2 separate regions of the Homo sapiens genome follow, and region 2 is linked to region 1. The links are contacts of gene promoters, found by promoter capture Hi-C in blood cells and fetal thymus (Javierre and others, 2016). All regions are on one chromosome and are shown on one strand. The core of a region is centred on a gene start or on the middle of the fragment in contact, and the rest is flanking DNA. Distances in the headings are between cores, read along the strand shown.

Region 1 (6,753 bases), core at 4,059-6,558:
TTAACCCCCAACCAGTCTTTGAATTATGTATAGCAGTAAGGTACGATAAGGCAGTGTTAAGAGCTTGAGTCCAGGGGTCGGATTGACTCTGGCCTTGAATTCCAACTCTATTCCTTAATTGGCTGGATGACCTTGAGCAAGTTACTTTACCTCTTCAAGATTCAGTTTTCTCATCTATAAAATAGAGGTAAAATTCATACCTACGTCTTCAGGTAAAGATGAAGATTGAAAGTTAATACTACATTTAGGCCGACCACTGTGGCTCACAGCTGTAAACCCAGCATTTTGAGAAGTTGAGGTAGTTGGATCACTTGAGCCCAAGAGTTTGAGACCAGCCTGGGTAACATGGTGAAACCCCATCTCCACAAAACAAACCCCAAAAATTAGTCAGGCATGGTGGTGCGTGCCACTAGTCCCAGCTACTTTGGGGGCTGAGGTGGGAGGATCAATTGAACCCAGGGGGTCGAGGCTACAGAAAGCCATGATGGGGCCACTACACTGCAGCTTGGGGAACAGGGCATGATACTGTCTAAAAAACTAAAAATAATAAATAAATATGACATTGCCCAGGCACGGTGGTTCACGCCTGAAATTCCAGCACTTTGGGAGGCCAAGGCGGGCAGATCACTTGAGGTTGGGAGTTCAAGACCAGCCTGGCCAACATGGTGAAACTCTGTGTCTACTAAAAATACAAAACAATTAGCTGGGTGTGGTGGCACACACCTGTAATCCCAGCTACTTGGGAGGCTGAGGCAGAGGAATCACTTGAGCCCGGGAGGCAGAGGTTGCAGTGAGCCAAGATCGCGCCACTGCACTCCAGCCTGGATGATAGAGTGAGAATCTGTCTCAAAAAATAAATAAACAAACAAATAAATAAATAAGACATTTAAATAAAGCATAATATGTGGAAAGCTCTCAATAAATTTTAGATCTTACTAGTTCCAATTTACAGCTGAGGAGGCTATGACTTAAAAGATAAATACTTAGGGCCAGTTTCGATGGCTCATGCCTGCGATCCCAGCACCTTAGGAGGCCAAAGCTGAAGGACTGCTTGAAGCCAGGAGTTTGAGATCAGCCTGGGCAATATAGAGAGACTCTGTCTCTATAATTTTTTTTTCTAAATTAGCAGAGCGTGGTGGCACACACTTGTAGTCCAGCTACTTGGGAGACTAAGGTGGAAAGATTGCCTAGGCCCAGGAGTTCAAGGTTACAGTGAGCCATGATCATACCACTACACTCCAGCCTGGATAACACCACAAGACTCTATCTCTAAAAATAAATAAATAAGTAAATAAATAAGCAAATGAATAATAATACCTTACCCAAGATCACAGAACTAGTAAGTTCTGAATCTGAGATCTGAACTCATGTCTGTCTGACTCCAAAGTCCATGTTAGCTTCTATGTTCTTCTGTTTGTACATCAAAGTTAAAGACGTAAGTCTCCTTCTGTGTTGACAGTAATTCATTTGATTTTATGCTGAGGCTTGGATCAAATACACTTAGAATACTGATGGTATTTTTAGCCTCTAAAATTTTTCTACAAAATCAATATGATTACTTAAATGACTTACATAATAAGAAACGTTCAGAGGAGAGCATTTTGTATACCAAGAAACATAAAAGATATACCTGTCATTACAAGTTCTATATAATTACATTATAGAAAGATTAGAAAATAGAGAACCACAAAAGAAAATTCAATCCCTATTATTACCGCTGAATCATGCAGTTGCTTTCACTTTTGCTTGTTCGTTTCCTGGGCTAGTCCACTGGCAGATATATTTTAGCAGAGTTGTAATCATAGCGTACATTCCATTGTATATCCTGTTTGGGTTTATTGTTCTGGTGACCCCTTTCTTCTCTGCAGTCTCCCATATAGTATGTGAGACATTTCCCACATTGCAGGTTAGGGAGAGGTGGTTCTCCGTGCCTTTGAGCAAGGAGCCAAGATTATCAGTGCAGTAGTGCCCCTTACTTTCCAATTGGTTTCATGAACAGCAGGAACTCATGCCTACAGGGAAGAAGAGGATGATGGGCAAGTAAAGGAGGAAAAAGCTCTTCACCTAATTCCATAAAATATGGGGTAGGGTGGGGTGGGGTGGGGGCAGACATTTTAGGGAACTGTACAACAGAGCAACACAATTAGGACAGAAGCAGCCTTCTTTCGTCACTTCCCCACGGGTCACTGTGGGAAGATGGCATGTGAGCGTGCCCTGCTTGTGCAGTTGCCAGTCACAGAACCCAGGAGGTCTGGAAAGCAAACCTCTGTTTGGCCAAAGGTACTGAAGGGTGGCAGAATGTGTTGCCCCCAAATATGCCATTTTGGCATAAGGATTATTTGGAGCTAAAGGCACTTGAAAATAGCAGATGCATATGAGGACCCAAAGGCATAAAAATAATAGACTCTGAGGACTTGGGGGAAGGGTGGGAGGAGGATGAGGGATAAAAGGCTACACGCTGGGTGCAGTGTACACTGCTCGGGTGATGGGTGCACCAAAATCTCAGAAATTACTGCTGAAGAATTTATCCATGTAACCAAACACCACCTGTTCCCCCCAAAACTGTTGAAATAATAATAAAAAGAAAAAGAAAATAGCAGATGCAAAAAGTGAATCTTAATCTTTTTTTCTTCCTTAAAACAGGAGATAAAAGTCCCACGTGAAAGATGCCCTCCCTGTACCAGGAGAATAAAAAACATTCTTTGACGGGGGTCATACCCAGGATAATTCTGTACAAACAGACCTTGCTAAAATAACCCTTATCTTACTTTGCCTTCACACATACTTTAATGTAATTACTTTTCTGCAGTTGTACTCTTTGCTCACCCTACTATACAAGCATTTAGGTTTCGGCACTTCTTTAGGTCTTGAATTTTCTATAGGGGCTCCTATATGTAAAAATCTGTATGTTTTTCTCTTGTTAATCTGTCATAGGTCAAGTTAATTCTCAGGCCTAGCCAAAATCCCTAAGAGAACAGAGGTAAAATTTTGCCTCCCTTGTGGTTTCTGGCAATGAAAATGGGACCCTAGAAGGTTGGGATGCGCCACTCACTTCAGAGCCTGTGGGTAGGATCCCGGAAGAGCTGACAGAACCTGCAGAAGGTAAGAATTCTTACCAAAGTCAGTCCCCCGACATATCTATCTGCAGTGCCCTGTAGAGAGGAGAACGTAAATTTTCCTTGTCTCTTCCTTTCCAAATTCAGATTGGCAGGAGAAAAACATTTGTAAGAATGAGTTCTTTGAATTGTAACTTTTATAAATTTGGTCTGGGTATGATCCACAGCCTCCAAGGAATAATAAAAAGTCCTTGTCTCTGTCGTTTGTGTTGTTTGTCATAAGGAAGAAAATCATGAGATTCGATTCTTCCTTCGTTTTATGTCCCGAGAGCTTGGCTTTAAAATAGTCTCTCTGGTCCTCGCCGCCAGAGGGCGCAAGTGTTGCTGGTTTGCATCAGGCCACCAGCCTGGAACCCAAAATCTAAGATAAGCAGCATTTTCGTCCGCCTGTGCCAGCTCTCAGAGAAGTTTGTCTTAATAAAAGGTCCCAGTCCATAAGAGGCGTTTGTCACCTGAACCTTCATTTTTCTTTTCTTTCTTTCTTTCTTTCTTTCTTTCTTTCTTTCTTTCTTTCTTTCTTTCTTTCTTTCTTTCTTTTTTTTTGAGTACAGGGTTTCATTCTGTCGCCCACGTTGGAGTGCAGTGGCGTGATCTTGGTCACTGTAACCTCCGCCTCCCGGGCTCAAGTGATTCTCCCGCCTCAGTCTCGCGAGTACCTGAAATTTCTGACATGCACCACCAGGCCTGGCTAATTTTTGTATTTTTTGTAGAGACAGGGTTTCACCATATTAGCCAGGCTGGTCTTGAACTCCTAACCTCAAGTAATCTGCCCGCCGCAGCCTCCCAAAATACTGAGATTATAGGTGTGAGCCACCGCGCCCGGCAAAAGGGCTGCATGGTTTGCATCCTCCTTGGGGATGTCTCTTACATCCATGGTTAAGTGATAAAAGGCTTATAGGTTTTAAGCCATAAAAACTTACTGGTTTTGAGTCACAATTAAGACAGGTATACCTTTGAAGATTTGAACTTTTATATCTAAAAGGATTTTTTTTTAAAAGAAAGCTGTCATCCTAAACAAATGTCTATGGAAAGATGAGATCGAAAGAAAATATTAATAGGCAAAGATGAGAATCAATTTTTATCAAAATTATTAAATTTTGTGTTTATGTATACCTAATCATGGCTAAGATTTTAAATGAAAATTATAAGATCTATTTGTGTCTGTCTTTATGTTTATGCCTATATGTGTGTGTTGTGTATATGTGATATGTCTCTACCTCCTGATATTGCACCACTACTTGACAGTATAATTCAGAATGTCTGGGGAAGGACCTTAGCATCTGAATTTTTAAAAAGCATGCCAAAAGATTTGAACAAGCAGCCAAGATTGGGAACTAATTATCTGATTAACGAATGACATCTCTAATTCAATTCCCTCTAGTGCACAGCACCTTTTCTTATAGCTAAAAATGATTGCTAAATCCACACTGTAATAATTTTTTCAATGTATAAGGATAGAAACCCAAAAAAAATGGAACAAGAAACCAACAAGAGCTCAAGGGAATTGTGACTCCTACAGCTGTTGAGGGAGACAGCAGGTCAAAAAGTAGCAGAAACTTGATCAGAACAATAGCAACAGTATTAGCAGCTAAATTAATAGCAGTGAATCCATCTCGGCTCTAATTACAACAACTATTAGGATTATGGAGGCTACTATAAAAATTGAATGAGAAAGTCAGTGAGATGCACTGTTTAATTTCCTTTCTGGCTCTTTCACTGTTTCTTTTTGTTTTGTTTTTTCCCTTTTCCTTGCCAATAAAAAATATTTGTTGAGTAACTCAGGCCTACTGTACAAAGTAACAATTCTCTCCTCCCTTTCCATCTTCTTCCTCTCCAGTTCTACTTCTGAGAAAGTAATCCTTAATAACAGTTTGGTGTGTATCCAAAAAAGCTTTTTTGTAGCATTATTCTCCAAAGTGTTTGAAGCATTTCTTCTGATAAAGTTTCTTTAGTCTTTAGCCAGAACTAGTCTTTGGCCCACTTAGTCTATTGATAAACAGGAAATAGCACATATTCCCCCCTTGAGGCTAGAATGGCAGGCCTAAAATGAGTAGGAGAATTCTGAGAAATGGAAACTTTAAAAAGGCGGCAACCTTCTAGTTTCATTCTCAGAAATACCAAAGCAGCATTTTTCCTGGACTTGTTCTGCAGAGCGCTCAGATTTGAAAGCCATTTCTAGCCTTTGAGGATTACCACTGTCCTCAGCCAAACTGCAGGGACTCCTAAGTAGATCAGAGCTCCTGGAACTTTCTCATCTTTTCAGCATCTCAACCCTGTGGAATCTTTTAACTCCCAAGGTAAGTACAGATTGTCCAGAGAGATCTAAGCCATGCTTATTCAATGGAATGGAGAGTCTCTCAAAGAGACCTCATAACTCTAAGATGAAAATCTCCTCTGTGGCTACAGACTTTTCCAGATATACCCACTTTAGGCAAGAGAGGATGAAGTAGACACTTTAGGTCTACACTTTTAATAAATAAGTGAAATAGACAATGAGAGGAGCTGGTCCTTAGACTGTACTCACCTTGTAGCTGAGGCCAGGGATGTAGGACTCAAGCCCAGAGGAACCTGGCTGGGCTGAGAGAAAGAGATGTAGAGGGTTCTCATAGTTCTGGGGAACAAACCTTCAGATAAGACAAGTGAGGAGACTTGGGAGGAAGGGATGCCTGTGAAGATTCTCTTTTTTTTTTGAGACAGGTTCTCACTCTTTCGCCCAGGCTGTCGTGCAGTGGTGCGATCACAACTCACTGCAGCTTCGACCTTCCAGGGCTCAAAGGATCCTCCTGCTTCAGCCTTTGAAAGTGCGGGGACTACAGGCACTGAGCGTGAGGGTGCCTGGCTAATTTTTTTCGTTTCTGTAGAGAGGAAGTCTTGCTAGATTGACCAGGCTGGTTTCAAACTCCTGACCTCAAGTAATCGTCCCACCTTGGCCTCCCAATGTGCTGGGATTATAGACATTAGCCACCGTACCCAGCCTCGCCTGTGAAGATTCTTTAGCAGTTAGCTGATTGCTTCATCACTATGAAAAGGGGTTTCTTATTTTTCTTATTTTTTTTTTTTTGAGACAGGCTCTCACTCTGTCACCCAGGCTGGAGTGCAGTGATGCAATCGTGGCTCACTGCAGTCTCAACCTCCCTAGGCTCAAGTGATCCTCCCGTCTCAGACTCTCGAGGAGCTGGGACTATAGACCATGCACCACCACACCCAGCTAATTTTTTTATATTTTGTAGAGACTGGATTTCCTTGCTCAGACTGGTCTCAAACTCCTGGGCTCAAGCAATCTGCCCACCTTAGCCTCCCAAAGTGCTGGGATTACATGCATGAGCCACTGAGCCCAACTGTGTTTTTTTGTTTTTCGTAATATATAAACTATTTTGTTTTCAGAGAAACTTAAGCTATATTGACTGGGAAACTGTGATCTAGTTGGATTTAGATATAATGTTTGCAAATGTGTCACTGCATTGGGTCTTTTTGTTTACCAACATTAATTAAAGCAGATACTTGTGAAGGCCCTAGATGTTCTGTCTAGCTGTGTTTTTACATGTGACTTTTGCTTGCCTGTGTTTAACAGAAATAGACCTATGTTTTTCTTGTTATCAAATGTGTTTTATAAAATAAATGCTATCACAAATACCAG
Region 2 (7,202 bases), core at 2,302-4,801, 520 kb after region 1:
TTTTTTTTTTCCACTCTATGTATAAGGAGCCAGGAGAAGAACTTGAGGAATTCTTTTTCTGTAAAGAACCTTGGCTGGGCGTGGTGGTTCATGCCTGGTAATCCCAGCACTTTGGGAGGCTGAGGCAGGCGGATCATTTGAGCCCAGGCATTTGAGACTAGCCTGGCAACATGGCAAAAACCTGTCTCTACAAAAAATACAAAAATTAGCTGGGCGTGGTGGTGGGTGCCTGTAGCTACTCAAGAGGCTGAGGTGGGAGGATCATTTAAGCCTGGGAGGTCGAGGCTGCAGTGAACCATGATCATGCCACCACACTCCAGCCTGGGCAACAGAGTGAGATCCTGTCTCAGAAAACAAAAACAAAAAACCAAGCAAACTTTTCAGGTAGATTTTTCAATGAAAGATGATAAGCTTCCTGTCATTAACCAGAAATTTCCAGATTGCACCTAAAGGTCACCCTACATACAAGATCTAAGTGGGTACTTTTCCTCTGAGATTTTCAAGAGACCTTAGTGTCTGCTTACATCCCCTGTTCTGGTGAGAGCTGCACTTTGCAAGCAGGAAAAACAGGCATGGAAGAATTAAGTAACTTACGCAGTACTGTCTGACAAGTTCATAAGTGAGCTGCACCTAGAATGTAAATTTCCTTATAATACTTGCTCAACCAGAGTTCTCTCTTTCACCTTTAGTGCCCTAGCAATCAATAGTTGCTAGGCAAGGAAGTATATACAATAAGCACAACTGTGGACAGGTACTAGTTTTGGATTTTTATTTAGCCAGTGGGCAAACTGGAAAGACAAGAGCATGCTTTGCAGCATGAGGTCGTTTCTCTTTCTAGGAAACAGGACATCTGAAAGATAGCTACTTAGGAACAGGTTAGGCTCTGAAGGATTCCAGGGTAATTCCAAGGTAACACTACCTGAGAGACCAGTGAGGATCTACAGTAAGCTAAGAGAAAACGTTGTTGATGAAGACATTGATTTGGATCCATCCCCATACATGTGTACTATGCATTTGATCTTGCCTTGATTTGGCATTTTGTTACTTCTGCTTTTCATTTCCATTGCAGTTGGTTGCCTCTTCTTGATTAGCTCCATATTATGAATCCTAATGTGGGGTGAGTGGCTGGGGTCGGTGGGTGTCTTTGGTTTCCCAGATTGTCCCTTCACTGGCATCCCCAGAATCTGGTGGAAAAGGCCTGTGAGCTCAGACACCTCTTTGCTCTGAGCTCACAGCAGGCCCTTTGCCTGCAGGGAGCAGTGGGCGAAGAGGATCTACTTAAGGGGTTTGTGGCTTAAATGGTGATGGAATTAGGAGGCTAACAGTTCTGCCTACTCTTTGGCCAAACCTCCTAAAAGAGTACTCAGGAGGAACCTTTTGAGAAGTGAGAATTCTAAGCATAATGAAATTCCGTAAGCATAGGCAGTGTTTTATATAGTGTTAGGCTAATAGATTCTTAGATACATTAAAATACTCTTTGACTAGGTCTGGACATAGCACTTAATAATAGTGTGCTCAACATGGGGAGCACATTTCCAGAATGTGAGAGTAGTTACTAGGCAGAAAAGAAAGAGACTAGGGTGGTGATGATCTGGAAACTTTGTCCCATCAGTGTCAGATAAGGAAGCCAGGGAGATTTAGTGTGAAGGAGGGGAAAACATGGTATAAACAGTTTGGGAAAAACAAAAAACAAACAAACAAAAACCCCAGGAGACTATGGTCTGAGGAGCAGAACCAGGGATAGGGATGGCAATTTTGGATCAGTGTCAAGAAAAACCTTGATGCCAGATAGAGAGCAGTCCAGCAGTGGAATGGACACAATGACCTTCCCTTCACCTGTGGTGCTCAAGCTGAGATTAAATTGATGATGAGTTGTGGCTACTGCCATCCTGGTGTGTGCAGAATTAATGCAGTTTTGTTCTAGAGGGCAGCTTTGTCTATTGAAATGTATTTTTGTTGTTTCTCTGCTTGACAAAGTTGGTATGAGAGAGCAGGCTTTTGTAATGATGCTGTAAGAGGCTCCGGATTTCTGGGCATGATGGGAGTACATTCTGGACATTGTGTGAGTTGAAAAGAGGCCCATGCTATGCAGATCTCTGGGACATCTCTAGATGTGATGTTACTTTTCTCTTCCCACAGGCCAATGGCCATGTGTCTCAGGATCAAGAGGAACCCGTCTACCTGGAGAGCGTGGCCAGAGTACCTGCTGAGGATGAGACCCAGGTGGGGCCTCTGCTTGGGTCTGTGTCTTCACCTTTCCTCTTTCACTGGTGTTCTTCGGAACCTCTTAGCAGAGTCGAGTGGAGAGAGAATAAATGTGTGATGATAGTGCTTCCGAAATTATATTTTTGGGGTAGGGTTTAGTGTTAGTGTTCCAGGTTAACTAGTGAAGCGGTCAGTGTATTTATAAGGAGTTGTGAGGTCACAGTGGAGACGGAGAAGCCTCATGGCCCATTGTATTTCCAGTCTCTTGACTTTCTAAGAGCTGCCGGAGGGCAGGCTTGTGGTCCTGCTGTTAAAGTCTTGTTCTTTCCTTGCTTCTAGCACACTGTAGCCATTGTCAAGGGAAGGAGGTCAGACAATTAGCCAGGCAGGGCCAGTCCAGAGCACAGACCAGGGAGCTGTGGCCAAGGTTGTGTATAGAGGAGTACTTGCCAGGGAAATGTGCCTCTTGTGGGCAAGCAGAAGTCTCCAGGGGAGAAGGGCCAGCACCATGCTGGGTTTCATGTGCGGCCATATTTAACCTCTACAGGACCCCTGTGGGGTAGGACTGCTCTCTCCCCTTAATGGAGGGGCAAACGGGCTCAGAGTGGTAAGCAACTTGCTGGATATTATTTAGCATTAACAGCAGAGGAGTCAAGATTCAAAATTAGGGTCATATGACTCAAACCAGCACTCCTTCTACTATACTTCTATCTAGTACTATATCACACTGATTGGTTGGTCTGTGTCTGTTTGCTCCTGAGCACAGAATCGTGGGTCAGGAAGAGATTCTAGTATATTTTGCAATGCAGAGCACCATGCCAGGTACTCATCCTGTCTCTGTTCCTACCCTTCATGAGGTCAGTCACCAAAATTATGATGTGGTGACTGCTTTGGGGTCCTTGGAGAAAGAGCTTGGGGAGGTAAGAGCTGAGCACACTGATCTCATCTTTGTCATTGCAGTCTATTGACTCAGAGGACAGCTTTGTCCCAGGCCGAAGGGCCTCTCTGTCTGACCTGACTGACCTGGAGGACATTGAAGGCCTGACAGTGCGGCAGCTGAAAGAGATCTTGGCTCGCAACTTTGTCAACTACAAGGGCTGCTGTGAGAAGTGGGAGCTGATGGAGAGAGTGACCCGGCTATACAAGGATCAGAAAGGACTCCAGCACCTGGGTGAGGGGCTATCTGCATGGTAGCTTTACAGAGCTCAGGAGTGTTTGCTGTCACTCCAAAGCATGATGGTATTGACCTGACTCAATTTCCACACTTAAGCCATGGAAGGAGACACCTTACATATTTGCACCGTCTAATAATAGCTGTCATTTGTGGTTGAGTGTCAAAACTAGATTAGGCATTGCATGTATGTATTTATTCCTTAGAGCAACCTATGAAATAGACATTATTAGCATCACCCCTTTATCTGAAAGGTAAAATTTAACTGAAAATTTTATGGTCTAAGTCCATAGCCTTTCTCACCATATGCTATCCCCTCCCTACTCACCACCACCTTGTAAGTTTTCTTACCTTAGAATAAGAATGCTTGTTCTGAAGATTTGGGAGGTAGAAAGTGAATCTACATACATGGCAGGAGAAGATAGCTGTTCCATCTGCACTTGGGCTCTTCCTTTTGTTCATTTCCCAGAGCATTTTACACTGTATCATTCAGGAGATGCCCAGGAAAATATCTGGGTCTGTGGTTAAATGAGTTTAGGGAAAAATACCTCATATCTTCATTACTGATTTATGGTAGATTTTTATATTAAAGGCAGAGAAGTCCTGCAGAAGAGAAATGTGTTTTGGCTGTTTTGAACTTAGCATTTCCTGAAATTATTTCACCACAGAATCTTCTCCTTTCCTCCCATCCCCAGTTGATTTGGTTCCTACAGAGCAACATACTGATTCCTTGCTTGGTAAGAGTGGTTGAAGTCAGGTTTCAGGCTCTCTTCTACCAGTAGCTCAAATTCATCAGTGTTAGGGGTCATCTGACTGACTCTTCACCCGATTACAGACTGAGGCCTACTGACATGGAGTCTGTTTTCCCTTTGGGATTGTTTCAAGAGTCTTCTCTCCAGTCGTCAGGACCTGGGGAACAGAACAGATGACTCCACGTGGGAACTTTATCCAGATTCTCTGACTGACTGAAACAGCTAGATAGTTCATTCTTTCTTGACTTTAATGCTGACTTCAAAATAGAAAAGGATATTGCACATATACAGTATCCTTCTACTTGGCAGTTTGTGCAAACTGGTGGAATACCTTTTCCTAAGAGTAGACCAGGCTGGGTGTGTTGGCTTATGCCTGTAATCCCAGCACTCTGGGAGGCTGAGGCAGGTGGATCACTTGAGATCAGGAGTTCAAGACCAGCATAGGCAACATGGTGAAACACCATCTCCACCAAAAACAAAAAATTAGCCGGGAGTGGTGGCATGTGCCTGTAGTCCCCAGGTACTCAGGAGGCCGAGGCAGGAGAATCGCTTGAACCCATGAGAAAGAGGTTGCAGTGAGCCAAGATCATGCCACTGCACTCCAGCCTGGGCAAGAGAGTGAGGCTCCATCTCAAAAAAATAAAAAATAAAAGTAGACCAGATGCACGAGTAGGAGCTTTGTGTGAGTTCTGAGCATGTAGAGCGAGTAGAGGGCAGATGTCCATCTAGGCTCTTGGCAAGCCTGGTTCCCAGCAGGGAGTGGTAAGAGTTCAGAAATGATGTCAGGGCAGTAAGAGACTGTATTTGTACCATCATGCCTTACCTATTCAGACATCCTTCTCTTTCCTTTTCAGTCAGTGGTGCCGAAGACCAAAACGGTATGTAGTTGTTTCTGTTTGGGAATGGGCTTAGGCCCTTTTGTCCTTCCCCTCCTTCAACCCCAATCCCTTTAGTAATCTAAGAATTCTGAGCATTTGAGCCCCCAGAGAGAGGGTGTGTGGGAAACTCACTGAGACCCAGGGGGCCTCTCACCATCTTTAGAAATTCTCTCTGCTCGCTGTGCAGGAAGCAGAGTGGAGCATACGTAGGGGCGGACTGACTGATGTGCATGTCCCTGGGCTACCTGAGCTCATAAGCCAACATTTGTAAAACACTGAAACAGAGGAGGGGTGGCATGTATCACACTCAGCTCATTTTTTAAAATCTTGGTGTTTTCAGTTCTGGTCTGGGTAGGGAGGGTCTCTGTGTACACCTTCTGGGGAATCAGGGTGTTTAGCAGCTTCTGGTACTAACCAAAAAGAAAGGGTGGTGACCTGAGACAGCCCTGTTTGTACAGGGCTGGTAATGGTTAGAGCTACTCTGGAGCTAACACATGTGCTACTCTCTGGGCACAAGCTATATATCTCAGCTCAGCTGCCACTCACTTAAAGACCACCACTGGGCCCTCAGGTACTCCCAGAACACACTGCAGAACTCCTGACCATCTGTGGGGACATTCTAAAATATGCTATGTGTTTTCAAAAGCCTCAAGGGTATATGGTTGTGAACTCCCTTCCAAGAGAGAACGTTCTAAGAGTAGTGTTGGACTAGCCTGCAGCATTTTAAAACTTATTTCAGAAGATTTCCCAAATTTATTTAGTAAAATGGCCTTTTGCTCAGAATGGGCAATTTTATGTCTGATTACTTCTAATCAGACATAAAAAACAGTTGAGCTTTTCTCAATTCCCCAAAACCATTTGGAGTTCTAGACCCACCTCCACCCTCCAACCCCCCAGCATCACCGGTACCAAGATCAGGCTGATCTACTTGGTGCTTCCTTTCTTTTTCTGATTCCCTGGGAGAATGCTGACAACTGAGTTAATGTGTTTGTTGTTACTTCTGAGAGAATGAGTAACTGAAAATTATAAATTATTCCCATTCATCTTAGGTATTTGTATAGTCTCCAAACCTCTGTTAGGACCAACAGCACCTCAAAAGAGGCAAATGGGTTTCACTCCCTTTCACACCCAGCCTACCTCCTAGGGGGAAGTATTTCTTGACTTTTTAATAGTCCAGAAAAGAGAAAGTATAGATGCAATAAGGGAGAATTCCTCTATGGGTTGGCCAACCCCCAGATGGTAGAGGTGACTTCTGTGAGATCAGTTCCTTTTTATGGGTACCTACTTCAGGCTACAATTTAAGACATATTGGAGATGGCTGGGCTTTTGAACATTATTTTTTCTGTTTGGGTCAGCTCTACTAGGATACTGGTCATGCCCACTATATTCTGCTAGTGACACAAGCCAGTTAGCATTTATTGAGAACCCTGTGCACTCAGCAGTTGATACTGTCTGGATAGTTTCTACTCTTAGGGCAGTTAGGCAGAAGGCCATTCTAGAGCAGGAGCTGTGGGGCCAGCCTGCCTGGGTTTGAATCCTGGCTCCTCGACTTAGCAGCTTTGTGCCCTTGGGCAAGCCACTTAACTTTTTTGCCCCAGTTGGCCTCATCTATAAAATGAAAATAACAAGAGGTCCTACTTTATAGTTTTTGTGAGGCTTCAGTGAGTTAACACATGCAAAGCTTTCAGGACCCTGCCTGGCACACGGTAAGCATTCAGTAAATGTGGGATGTTGTCATTCCCTTGGGAAGATGTTCATTCATCAGACATTTAGAGTACCTACCATATAACTGGCATTGGGGGCTTCAAAGATGAATATCTAACCTTGGAGCATGGAATAAATGCTAAGCATATAATTGTAAAAATTGATTGAATATGTTGAATTAAAGAGCTCATAGTCTACTCTGGGAGTAAGTAGGCAAACTCAAAATTTTAATCCAATGTGATAAGCAGTCATGGGGGTATAAAAAAGTTTTGTGGGGGTAGAAAGAGGGAGCAGTAATCTCTGCCAAGTTTCTCCACCAGGAAGTTTCCTCAGGAAACCTGGGAGTAGTTTGTGAGATAGCAGAGGGGTCCCCCATGATCCCTGACTTTATTAAATGGAGGATATGTTTATAGATAAAGCCTTGTGATCCTTAATGAACCATTCATCACAGTTCCATTTCTATCTAAACTTTTCTGAACCAGTTTTATCTTT

What was found. The method cuts DNA at HindIII sites, captures the fragments that hold promoters and counts their contacts. A CHiCAGO score of 5 or more calls a contact.
Region 2: a fragment that was not itself captured here is called in contact with the fragment with the promoter of SLFN12L in region 1 in 5 of 17 cell types (activated CD4 T cells, naive CD4 T cells, total CD4 T cells and 2 more); the score reaches 8.8 in activated CD4 T cells.

Annotation. Positions count from the first base shown.
Region 1 is chr17:35,536,233-35,542,985 of GRCh38, reverse strand. SLFN12L (schlafen family member 12 like) reads left to right here and starts at 5,308. Exons shown (of 5, transcript NM_001363830.2): 1 at 5,308-5,413. RefSeq lists enhancers at 1,659-1,848, 1,889-1,968, 5,901-5,980. The HindIII fragment of the contact is 3,143 bases long and covers 5,010-6,753 here.
Region 2 is chr17:35,012,544-35,019,745 of GRCh38, reverse strand. RFFL (ring finger and FYVE like domain containing E3 ubiquitin protein ligase) reads left to right here. Exons shown (of 7, transcript NM_001017368.2): 4 at 2,140-2,223; 5 at 3,166-3,376; 6 at 4,983-5,006. It overlaps RAD51L3-RFFL (RAD51L3-RFFL readthrough), which reads left to right. Exons shown (of 7, transcript NR_037714.1): 6 at 3,166-3,376. Among named protein-coding and RNA genes, the nearest start is that of LIG3, 36 kb to the right of the region's middle. The HindIII fragment of the contact is 6,276 bases long and covers 414-6,689 here.